Linked DNA regions of Homo sapiens: region 1 is linked to region 2. The links are contacts of gene promoters, found by promoter capture Hi-C in blood cells and fetal thymus (Javierre and others, 2016). All regions are on one chromosome and are shown on one strand. Each heading gives the region's core, a stretch centred on a gene start or on the middle of the fragment in contact. The rest is flanking DNA. Distances are from core to core; before and after follow the strand shown.

Region 1 (5,817 bases), core at 811-3,310, 1.3 Mb after region 2:
TTGACAAATGGGATCTCATTAAACTAAAGAGCTTCTGCACAGCAAAAGAAACTACCATCAGAGTGAACAGGCAACCTACAGAATGGGAGAAAATTTTTGCAATCTACTCATCTGATGAAGGGCTAATATCCAGAATCTACAATGAACTCAAACAAATTTACAAGAAAAAAAACAACCCCATCAAAAAGTGGGCAAAGGATATGAACAGACACTTCTCAAAAGAAGACATTTATGCAGCCAACAGACACAGGAAAAAATGCTCATCATCACTGGCTATCAGAGAAATGCAAATCAAAACCACAATGAGACACCATATCACACCAGTTAGAATGGCGATCATTAAAAAGTCAGGAACAACAGGTGCTGGAGAGGATGTGGAGAAACAGGAACACTTTTACACTGTTGGTGGGACTGTAAACTAGTTCAACCATGGTGGAAGTCAGTGTGGCGATTCCTCAGGGATCTAGAACTAGAAATACCATTTGACCCAGCCATCCCATTACTGGGTATATACCCAAAGGATTATAAATCTTGCTGCTATAAAGACACATGCACACGTATGTTTATTGCGGCACTATTCACAATAGCAAAGACTTGAAACCAAGCCAGATGATCAACAATGATAGACTGGATTAAGAAAATGTGGCACATATACACCATGGATACTATGCAGCCATAAAAAAGGATGAGTTCATGTCCTTTGTAGGGACATGGATGAAGCTGGAAACCATCATTCTCAGCAAACTATCACAAGGACAAAAAACCAAACACCTCATGTTCTCACTCACAGGTAGGAATTGAACAATGAGAACACATGGACACAGGAAGGGGAACATCACACTCTGGGGACTGTTGTGGGGTCGGGGGAGTGGGGAGGTATGGCATTTGGTGATATACCTAATGTTAAATGACGAGTTACCGGGTGCAGCAAACCAACATGGCACATGTATACATATGTAACAAACCTGCACGTTGTGCACATGTACCCTAAAACTTAAAGTATAATTAAAAAATAATAATAATAAATAAAATAAAATAAAAGATAACCTCCCATCTCACACCCTTTATCACATCTGCAAAGTTCCTTTTGTTACGTAGATTAACATATTTGCAGATTCTGAGATTAGAACATCTCAGAATGGACATCTTTGCAGGGCCATTTTTCAGCCTACCTTACATAGCTATTTATTTTTCCAAGGAAATAAAAAAGAATTACCTGCATTCTCCAGGATAACTAGTTGTAAAGTTCAGGTCACAGTCGCACCTCATAAATATTGTCTCAAGCTTTTCTCCCCAGTTCTGCAGCTGCATAACCAAACACCATTGTGCTAGTAGAAGCTCATCCACTCAGCTGCATAACCAAACACCATTGTGCTAATAGAAGCTCATCCACTCAGCTGCCTGGTTTCTGCTAACTCAGCTGGGAGCCTATAAATTTGGTGAAGCTGTATTTGTGGGAATCCTTTCTCGGGTTTAGAGGGGTGGAGAGCTAGGCCTACAACCTTCTTTTAAACAGGCAAAAACTGAAACTGTTTAACTGAAAGTACTGTCAAATATTTTCATGTAAAATGAAAATGTAGACTTTTTATGACTTGCAGGGCTCTTAGGGGATCTATTTAATGAATTGTCTCATTTTACCAGCAATAAAACTATCGAGGAGAAAGATCAAGTCAAGCTCACCAGCCTCTGAGTAGCAAACCTCAGACTTGGTTTCCTTATCTTCTGCTCCACTGCCAGGAAGGAAGAAAGGAAGGCAGTAAGTAAAAAGGGAAGGAAGGAAGGGAGGGAGGAAAGAAAAAGAGGATTAGTTCATGTCCTTTGTAGGGACATGGATGAAATTGGAAATCATCATTCTCAGTAAACTATCGCAAGAACAAAAAACCAAACACCACATATTCTCACTCATAGGTGGGAATTGAACAATGAGATCACATGGACACAGGAAGGGGAATATCACACTCTGGGGACTGTGGTGGGGTGGGGGGAGAGGGGGAGGGATAGCATTGGGAGATATACCTAATGCTAGATGATGAGTTAGTGGGTGCAGCGCACCAGCATGGCACATGTATACATATGTAACTAACCTGCACATTGTGCACATGTACCCTAAAACTTAAAGTATAATAATAAAAAAAAAAGAAACAAACAAAAAAAAAAGAGGCAGATATGCAATTTAAAGGGCAAATTAGTTATCTGGGTGATGAGCGTTGCACACCTCTGCTCTGTTTCCACTTGTAGTCACTAATAAATAATCTCAATGTTAAAAATAAACAATAAAAAAAAAGAAAAAGAGGATTAAAATCATTCGAAAACCAAAATTCAAAGAGATCCAGTGTGTCCACTCAAGTGCAGACATCTGATATAGTCAGCTCTTGATTAATGATGATAAAGGTGAAGAGAGATGAAAGTCATGTATAATTCTAAACCCTGATTAAAACAAAACTAGTCTGAATCTGGTAGCAAGTAAATTTATATAAACATATTTTATTGTAATTATATCTAATATTTAGGAACACATTTACCACTCCACAGATGCCCAAAAGTGTAAAAATAACCCTAGTGCAACTCATTAGGAACACTAAACACCAAATGTGTCACTTGATGAGAAACTGCTAAAGGCTTGCTAATAAATAGTCTAATTTCTATTTGCTTCCCAGTTAATCTCGTTTTTAAAAATGTTAGAACACAACTAAGTTGGGCAGAGGAGTAATCTCAATGCTTAGATCTTCCTCTGTCTTCTCCTTCTCACTTAATTTCTCAACCCTGTCTTTAGAGTTCTTGAATCCATGGCCCTCCTAATCCCATTTGGTTTTGCTTACAGTAAACAAAAGCTTCCTTTTTGAGGGACCATTGACTCTGGGATGGAGCCCAGAAATAACCTGGTGGTCTCACTAGAGGGGTTCTGATGATTACCAGGCACCTGCAACAGAAGCCTTCAGATATGTGGACGTTTGCACTGATTGGGGGTAATTTTTCTATTTTATGCACTTTTAATGCATTTTCTATTAATCAACAAACAGAGAACACAACCCCAAATAACTGAGCAATGACCACGGCTAAAAAGCTGGAATGTGAATTCAGCTTTCCGGGATTCCCAAGCTTCTTACTGCCCACAAAGCAGGACACAGACATGCAGAGATATGTGCTCAAAAACTGTCTTAAAGCCGTATACAAAGACAGCATCACTTTGAATTATGCTACAAAACAGTGCCTGAAAGTTGTGTATGAAGTAAATTTCCATTACAAGAATCACAAATTGATATTTTATTTTGAAGCTATTTACAGAGATGTGTTACACAAGTCCTAAAAATGTGTCTCCCTGACCATGCCACATGCATGGGCAGAGGAACACAGGCACACACATGTACATATACACAAGCCCCTTCACCTGGCTGACTTTTTCATCACTCCTCATCACTTCATCAGGCAAGTCTTCCCAAACCCTCCAGACTCAGCTCAATCCCCCTCATCTTCTCATTGTCTCTGTAGCTCTTACCATAGTTGCCAACTGATTCATTATTTGTTAGCAGAATAGGATAGTGTTTAAGTGTCAGATTCTCAAGCCAATCTTCCTAGGTTCAAATATCAGTTCTGTCACCTACTGGTTGTGGGATCTTGAGCAAGCTCCTTAACCTTGCTTTGCCTCAGTTTCCTCAACTGCAAACTAGAGATCAGAGTTCCATCTTCTGGGATTATTGAGTGGAACATGTGAGATAACGCATGTAAAATATTTGGGAAAGTGTCCAGTACATAGTAAGTTCTATACAGGTATTTGCTATTATTATTTATCAGCTGTGAGCATCACTCATTATGCTGTAAGGTGCACAAAGGCTGGAATTGTTTCTGTATTTCCCACTCCTCATATCTGCTTTCAAATAGTTTTTGGAGGAAGAAAGTTGTGAAATCCCAAAGTTTCCTCTGCCATCACTAAATCTCTTCATCTCATTCACAGCTCTGCCACATTCTCTACGGTCACCACCATTGGAGTTGCTGTCACCACAGCTACCACAGCCCCTTTACTGACACATCCAAATACCTTAAGTTCAAAAGGCTGTGGCATCAGATTCAGAAAGAAGAGTGCTAATTCTAAAAGATAGCCATTCGAGCAGCAGCAATGTAACAGATGTTTTGTTGATTTAGCAATTATTTCAAAGGTAACAAAAACTCTGGCTAACAATAGAGGAGGAAGGAGCTTACGCTCCAGAAGAAACACACCAACAACTACAAATTCACAGCCACTATCCACCAAGGGGGTACAAAATAATAGTAAGAATAACAATAACAAAAACAACAATGAAAGCACTAAGATGCTTTCAAGGGAGGCACCATAGCAGAGTCGTCATGAGCACAAGACCTGGATCCTGCCAATCTGGGTCTCAAGCCCATCTCTGTTACTTACTAGCTGTGAAACGCTGAGCTGTTTCTTAATTTTTACGTGATTTAGCTTCCTCTCTGAAAAATGAAGATAAAAATAGTATCAGCACCACTACAGTATTACTATAAGGACTAAAGAATTACCTTTTGTAGAGAACTTGGAACAGTGACTGGCACATAAAAAGTATTCAATTAATGTTGGTTATTTTTGTTAATTGAAAGAGTTTTCACAGACATATCTCAAAGGACCAGCACTGAGAGTTTTCCACACATATATTATGCAGACACACACACACCCAAGACCTTTTTCCCGACACCTCACATTAACACTACACTTTGATACAGTGTGTACTCTCTCAGGCCCTTTCCTTGGGCTCTTACACAAAGCCAAGAGTTCTGCCTGTTGCTCTTTTCCCTGATGTGACTATTACCTGTGTTAAGACAGGTATCTTAACATGCATAGATCTTAAATCAATCTATGCATGGCTACCATTATTTCACTGCAGAACACGGACTAATAGTCCCAGCTTTACTTCTCAATCGAGGCTTTCTGTAAGAAGAAGAGCTTCCTATCCAGGTTTTCTTATGAACACACAAAGACCAATCTTTTATCCATGGCCTAACCCAGTGTTTACCAAACTTGAATACATCTGAAGACTTGCAAAGCTCTATCAATTTCTGTCTGAGAGACATATTCCAACCCTTAAATTTATGAAAGACTCAACAAGCTGAAAAAGCAAGCAATACAATTTCAGAGAAGTAGTTTATCCAAGGATACATGGACAGTAAAAAGTAGAACTATGCCTTAAAACCCTTCTTTTGACTTTAGTACAATGTTTTCTTTTAAATTTTATTTATTCAAGAAGTTTGGAATTTAGAAATCATGGAGATGATTGGGCAAACCTAATACTAAAGGAAAAGTCAGATAATCCATAATATCATTGCTTTTTATCCCATTAAAAAAGCTGAGAATACTAATAAAGCTAACTTAACTAAAATCTGTATAGTTATGATCCCGTTCTATAAAAGAAGAGACCAGTGAATTTTTTCATCCCTGGTGGTGCAGCAGGAAACAGAATCTACCACAGAAAAGAAAATGAGGAACTACATGAATCTTAGACAACTATTAAGACCTGTGTGTGAACTAGCTTGACATGCTGGAGTCCCAAGGAACCCATCCACACCATCAAGCTGTACTCACCTGCCAGCACTTTACCACAGGTCTTCACCAGGCACAGAGGAGGACTATACTGAAGACTGAGGGAAAGTCAAGAAATCTGAGAGAGAGAGATCCTTGAGGCATGTGAACCTTCCCTAAGTGCAAGGCAGCATCCCAGTGAAGACTGGAGTCAGGGCAGAAGAGTTAAAAGAAATCTGTCTGAGAAAGTCTAGGCCTTCACTAGGTCAAAACAGTTGCAACGGAGGCCAGAAATAAGGCAGAAG
Region 2 (5,401 bases), core at 2,674-5,173:
TCATTTTTCCACAGTATTTCCTCATAATAAGGATTTATATACAATGAGCTTGATTTCATTTTCTGTGTTCAAAACTTGGGATAATTATTGTGTAAGAGAAGCTAAGAGTATATTAATTGGTCCATGTAAACTAAACAAATTATGTTTGAAAGTCCATGGCCATGGTGCACTTCTCATGGTGAAACCAGAAAACATTTGCAATTTGCAAAAAAAAAAAAAAAGTTTACTGTCAAATAATAGTTTGCGAAACACATATGATTATCTGTTCTATCAGACAAATACTACAGAATATTATTAGGTTTAAAATAACTTGTTAGAATGCAGTTTCATGGCAAAGCTTTGACTTTTCTGAAGTATCAGGGTTGTAACAAAAAGAATAGGTTTTCTATCATCACTAACTCACATACAGTAGAAATAGAAGATGAGATCAAACTGAGGTATCCTCTGTGGCCCTTGATCCAGCCCTCTCAGCCTCTCTTAGGAGATTTAAACACATTTCCTCACATACTCTAAGAAAGGCCATGGCCAACACCTTAGTTTACACGAATGTCAGGAAACATCAACTACTGCCTTCAAAGAGGTAAATGACCAATTGTAATTAGCAAGTTTCTGTTTCTCTTTTACAGCTAGGTAATGGCAGAGATCCATGTTAAATTCCCAAATTACATGCAAATTCTGCATTGATCAAAGGTAGTAAAAATTTTATGAAGTAGTATTAGACACTCCAGATATCACAAAGCAGAAAATTACTATGATTTGAATATTTGCTATGCTTTCTTCTGGGGAAAAAAAAAAAAACTCTATGGAAGACAAACAACACAAAAGTAACCAAAATATCATGCTTAGTGAGATAGGTATCTTATATTGGGTACATGATTTATGGCATGAATGAAAGCAAGTCATGTGAAAGACACAGAAACTAAACTCTGAAAGGTTATTGTAAACAAGAATAAATTAGGAAAAAGTTTAAATTAAGCTTTTTGTCGGCACTGTTTTAGGAAACATCCCTGTTCTCTTGTAGATATCTTTCAACATGGATTTTAAAAGAAAATGTACATGTTACATACTGGGTAGTGGTCAATGTCTTGTTTATCTGGGTGCACTCTTTTTGATCTGCTCTTATTTTCCCCCCTTTGCTTTTCTACAACACCCCCTCTAGCAAGGCCTAAGCTGTAAAACTACCTTCGTCTCATATAGTGTCTTCGTAGAGAAGATGGTGAATATCCTGGGAATGAGCCTTGCTTTCTGAGATCTCTAGCACACCTAAACCCTCCCCAGAAGCATTCTCTGAGCTCCCTGGGCTCCAACCTGCTGCTTGCTGCCTGCTAGTTTGGGGTCCGCCCTTGAGCTCACGGAAGTTATCCTCTGTTGGTGCTCTGTCATGTACCCAGGGAGAGTGGAAACATAGCCAGGAGACAGCAGCGCGCACAGTCACCTGTCTTTCAGTGTCAGCCTGGTTGCTCCTAGATGTTCCTAACTTGCTCCATCTCAGACCAATGACTCCACGGGTCGTTACAAGAAGAACAGAAGAAAGAAAGTTTTCTTGTAAGAGAGAAGGAAAGGTTGCCGGAAGTGGGAATAAGCTGTGATGGCTGATGGAGTCAAAAGACCGTTGAGACAAAATGAGAAGGACGAATGGAAATAAATAGATGTTACTGATTATTCCTCAAATCTCAGAAAATTCCATTTCACCCCAACAGATCTTGCCCTTTATCCCCCAAATGAGCAGTTATTCGATGAGTGAAATAAACTCTAAAATATGGAAATAGATTCCTCTCGGGAGTGTGAGGGAGGCCCTGGGACTCGCTGGTGCGTGTGCGGAGGGCCCTCTCTCCAGCTGGGCGCTCCAGGCGCCCTCACCACGTGCGCCGCAGGCTGCTGAATCAGCGCGATCAGATAGACTAGACAGGCGCAGAGGGGCGGGCATAGACCTGCTTTTCTCTCAGCATGAACCATCAGGTCTTCCGCATTAGGCCCCCTTAACCCACCGGAGGAGGCTAGCCAGCCTACCGCCTTACCCACTTGCGCGCCTCCGACCCCCCTCTGGAGACTGCTGGCTGCCAAATCTTCAGACCGCCGGTGGTGTCCACGCTCCTCTGGAGCCTGTGTAAGAAGGAGCCCAATGGCCCGTGGAGTCTTTGGTCTGAGATGGAGCAAGTTAGGAACATCTAGGAGCAACCAGGCTGACACTGAAACCAGGTGACTGTGAGCGCTGCTGTCTCCTGGCTACATTTCCGGTCTCCCTGGGTACCTGACAGGCCCTGGCTGGGGCTCTGCCTGGTGGACCAACCCGCGCTGGAAGAGCGATCTGGCCCTACTGAGCAAAAGCCCCACAGAGATCTCCCCACTCCTACTCACAGCCCCAAACCGTCCCTGCCCCCAGCTGCCTAGAGGCAGTGAAGAGAAACCAGAGGAGTGGCTGCGATGGTCTGGAAACATAGATGGGGTGGAAGGGAAGAGGAGATGAGAAAGGAAAAAAGAGAGCGTGCTGAAAGAAAAAACTCAGAGGGAAAATTTAAAACTTTGTTTATAAAAAGTCCTACAAAATCTGCACCCCTACCAAATTTAACCTCTGCGTTTCTTCTAAAATAAGGAACTTTCCCCTAACTGTTCTTGGGGACCAAAGGCTGGCCACTCTCCTAATACGGTGTAGTCATGGTCTCAAGATACTAAACATTGTTAAATCCAACTCTGGAGTTAGTAATTTCAATGTTTATCATGTCTCCCTCTCTAAACGCGTCCAGTTTTCTAGAGCACAATCTTCTTCCAAGCAGGAATGTCTGTCTGGTGTCCCCTAGTTATCTATCTGTCTGTCTATCTATCTGTGTATCTATCTATCTATCTATCTATCTACCTATGTGTATACATTGTATACATAGACTTATATACATATATACATATACATATACAATATTAATTTGAGGTTTATGGTAGCGGATGGAAGAGGGAAGTATTTGGGATTTGATTCTTCTTTTCAAAAAATAACTTCAGTTATGGATAGGGAGAAGGGCTGCCTTTGATGCCTAATGAAAAATGCCAGGCTAGTTCATAAGCAGAAGGTAAACAAATTGAGTGAGAAGAAATGAGTTTTTTGTTCTCTCCTGTCATGGCTGGGGACTCGTCTTTGAGGCTAGAGCAAACTGAAAACAAGGTACCCGTCTGGGCACCAGCCTCTAGGTAACATACACCTGAGAAATCGCAATTCCTCATGCCCAGGAGAGGGGTGCGTGTGCGCACGCCATATAGATGCATCTCCACCCAACCCGCCCGGCTGTTTCTGAGTATCAGCTTGGTCCCAGTGGCCTGGGCTCAGGAAGGTGAGCCTGTGTCCCGGCGAATACCTGCTGTCCCTCCCGAATCTTCCGCGGCCGCCTAGGACGGGTTTTGTAGGAGAGCGAGTAACTTACTTAACATATTGGCTTCGTGGGATCCATTGACTTTGCCATCCGGGTAGATCTGCAGATGGAAACCGATGCCCACTCTGCAGTAGAGGCTGCCGGTCCGGCGCCCCGAGGGGCTCCACTGGAAACTGCTCTGCTCCAAGCCACTTCCTTGGCTGCCCAGAGAAGCTGCGGGGGAGGAGGAGGCAGAAGAGGAAGACATAGCGCTACTGCTGCTCTGTCTGCTGCTGGAGCCTCTAGGGTTCCTATCAGTGGCAGCGGGTCCGGGTTGCCCTTTGGGGGCGAGACGCTTCTCCCCGTGAGCCCAGGCGCTGAGGATCAGGTGGCTGAAGAAGAGGAGGAGGAGGAAGGACAAGCTCATTCTTCCAGCCGCGGGGGTCCTAAGTGCATCTTGTAGGGCTGATTCTGGGCTCTGTAGCCCCTGTGCGGCTGCGTGCCTCTGGCTCTGCCCGCCTCGCCGCACCGGGTGGACATAGCCTCGGGGAAGAGAAGGGGAGAGGGGAAGAGAGAGGCCACCCGAGCGGATCTCCGCGCTGGCACCGGGATATTTATAACGCCAGTGATCTCACTGCTCCGTGCACGCCTGCGAAGCTTCCCCTCACCCGCGGCTTTGTGTACTCACTGGCCGGTGCGGGGAGGGAGCCTCGCGGTCCCGGGGGCGGGGGATGTGAAGGAGGGAGGAGATCCGAGCGAGTGAGTGGGAGGAGAAGCTGGGCTGAGAGAACCTGCGCCCCGGACGCTGGGTGCGCCCATACCAGGGCCACGCATCCCAGCAGTTCTCTCGCGTCGCGCGGCCACCCGGATTCCCCGACTAGGACCAGAGCCGCGTGGAAACGAGCTCGGCGTTAGCAGCTGAGTCCTCCAGGGGCAGCGATAGAAACGGAGGGTTGAAATGTGGAAATGGGTCCTTGTCCTCTCCCACCTCTACAGCACACTTGTGACTGGGCAACGCACTCTTGCCCCCCAGGACACGATTTCCAGGTTCTCCTCTCTTTGCCCTGTAAACCCTGCTATCTCGTCCTCTCTCTGGGAGCCCTTGGAGAAATGCGTCCCACCAGGAGATCCCACTGCTTCTACGTCTTTCGGCGTTGGAAAACCAAACAGGGATTCGCAGCCCAACTTGGGAAGCCTTTGGTGTGGCGCGGTTCGGGGAGAAGGCTGTTTTTGCTGTTATTAGCGATTTATTAAAGAGCTAAGGAATGGGTTTATTCAGCGTTTAAAACGCCACCCTGAGTCATCATGCCACGACTGGAGCTGCTTTCTTGTTGGAAACTCTCGGCTGCGCTGAACATTATGACGAATTTGTTTTTCCTTCTGGGAAGCTCTCCGTCTGTATTCGTGAGAGTGAGGGCACACGCACCCCCGCGCTCCGACCGGGGAAAGAGAGGCAGCGGCTGGACACCAGCACATGTAACTGACCGCCCAGTTGTCCTCTTTCGCCCCAGGATCCCCGTGGCAGGAAGGGTTAGCTAACTGCTCGCTTTAGCTTACCCAGACCTGCCATTGACTGAGGGACCGACCTCAGTGAATGATTAATGACGTGCGCGCTGGATTTCAACCTCAGGAAACCCGAGAAGGGAAAATTTCCTTGAGAACAGAGAATTTCCCTGTACGGGCAACGTCCCCAGACTGTTATTTATCTGGGAAATACACCTGACTTGCATGCTTGGAATGTTTCTGTCTAAAAACATATTTGAAACTTTAAACTAAGCTATGATACATTATTCATTGGTTATTTTAATGAAACGGCCCGTGCTATTGACTGATAAGGTCAATTCAGATGAACCAAGGTTGAAGCTAAGAAACGGCCTTACCCATTATTGAGTACCTACTTAAGGTTTTCCATCTCAATAATGAAACGCATATAAAACAATGCAGATTTTTCAGGTTTGGAATCTTCCACCGCCAGAGTAACATCAAAGTACTTGTAAAACAGAAGGTTACCTGGAAAGTGTAGTAAAACCACTGTGATAAAGAAAGAGGACATCACACATAGATGT

Evidence for each region. The method cuts DNA at HindIII sites, captures the fragments that hold promoters and counts their contacts. A CHiCAGO score of 5 or more calls a contact.
Region 1: a fragment that was not itself captured here is called in contact with the fragment with the promoter of FGF5 in region 2 in 1 of 17 cell types (erythroblasts); the score reaches 5.7 in erythroblasts.

Annotation. Positions count from the first base shown.
Region 1 is chr4:78,971,635-78,977,451 of GRCh38, reverse strand. It overlaps LINC01088 (long intergenic non-protein coding RNA 1088), which reads right to left and starts at 5,704. Exons shown (of 6, transcript NR_038342.1): 1 at 5,576-5,704; 2 at 4,400-4,452. The HindIII fragment of the contact is 1,547 bases long and covers 1,287-2,833 here.
Region 2 is chr4:80,265,186-80,270,586 of GRCh38, reverse strand. FGF5 (fibroblast growth factor 5) reads right to left here and starts at 3,923. Exons shown (of 3, transcript NM_004464.4): 1 at 3,408-3,923. The coding sequence starts at 3,762. RefSeq lists enhancers at 1,384-1,954, 3,697-4,228. The HindIII fragment of the contact is 3,016 bases long and covers 979-3,994 here.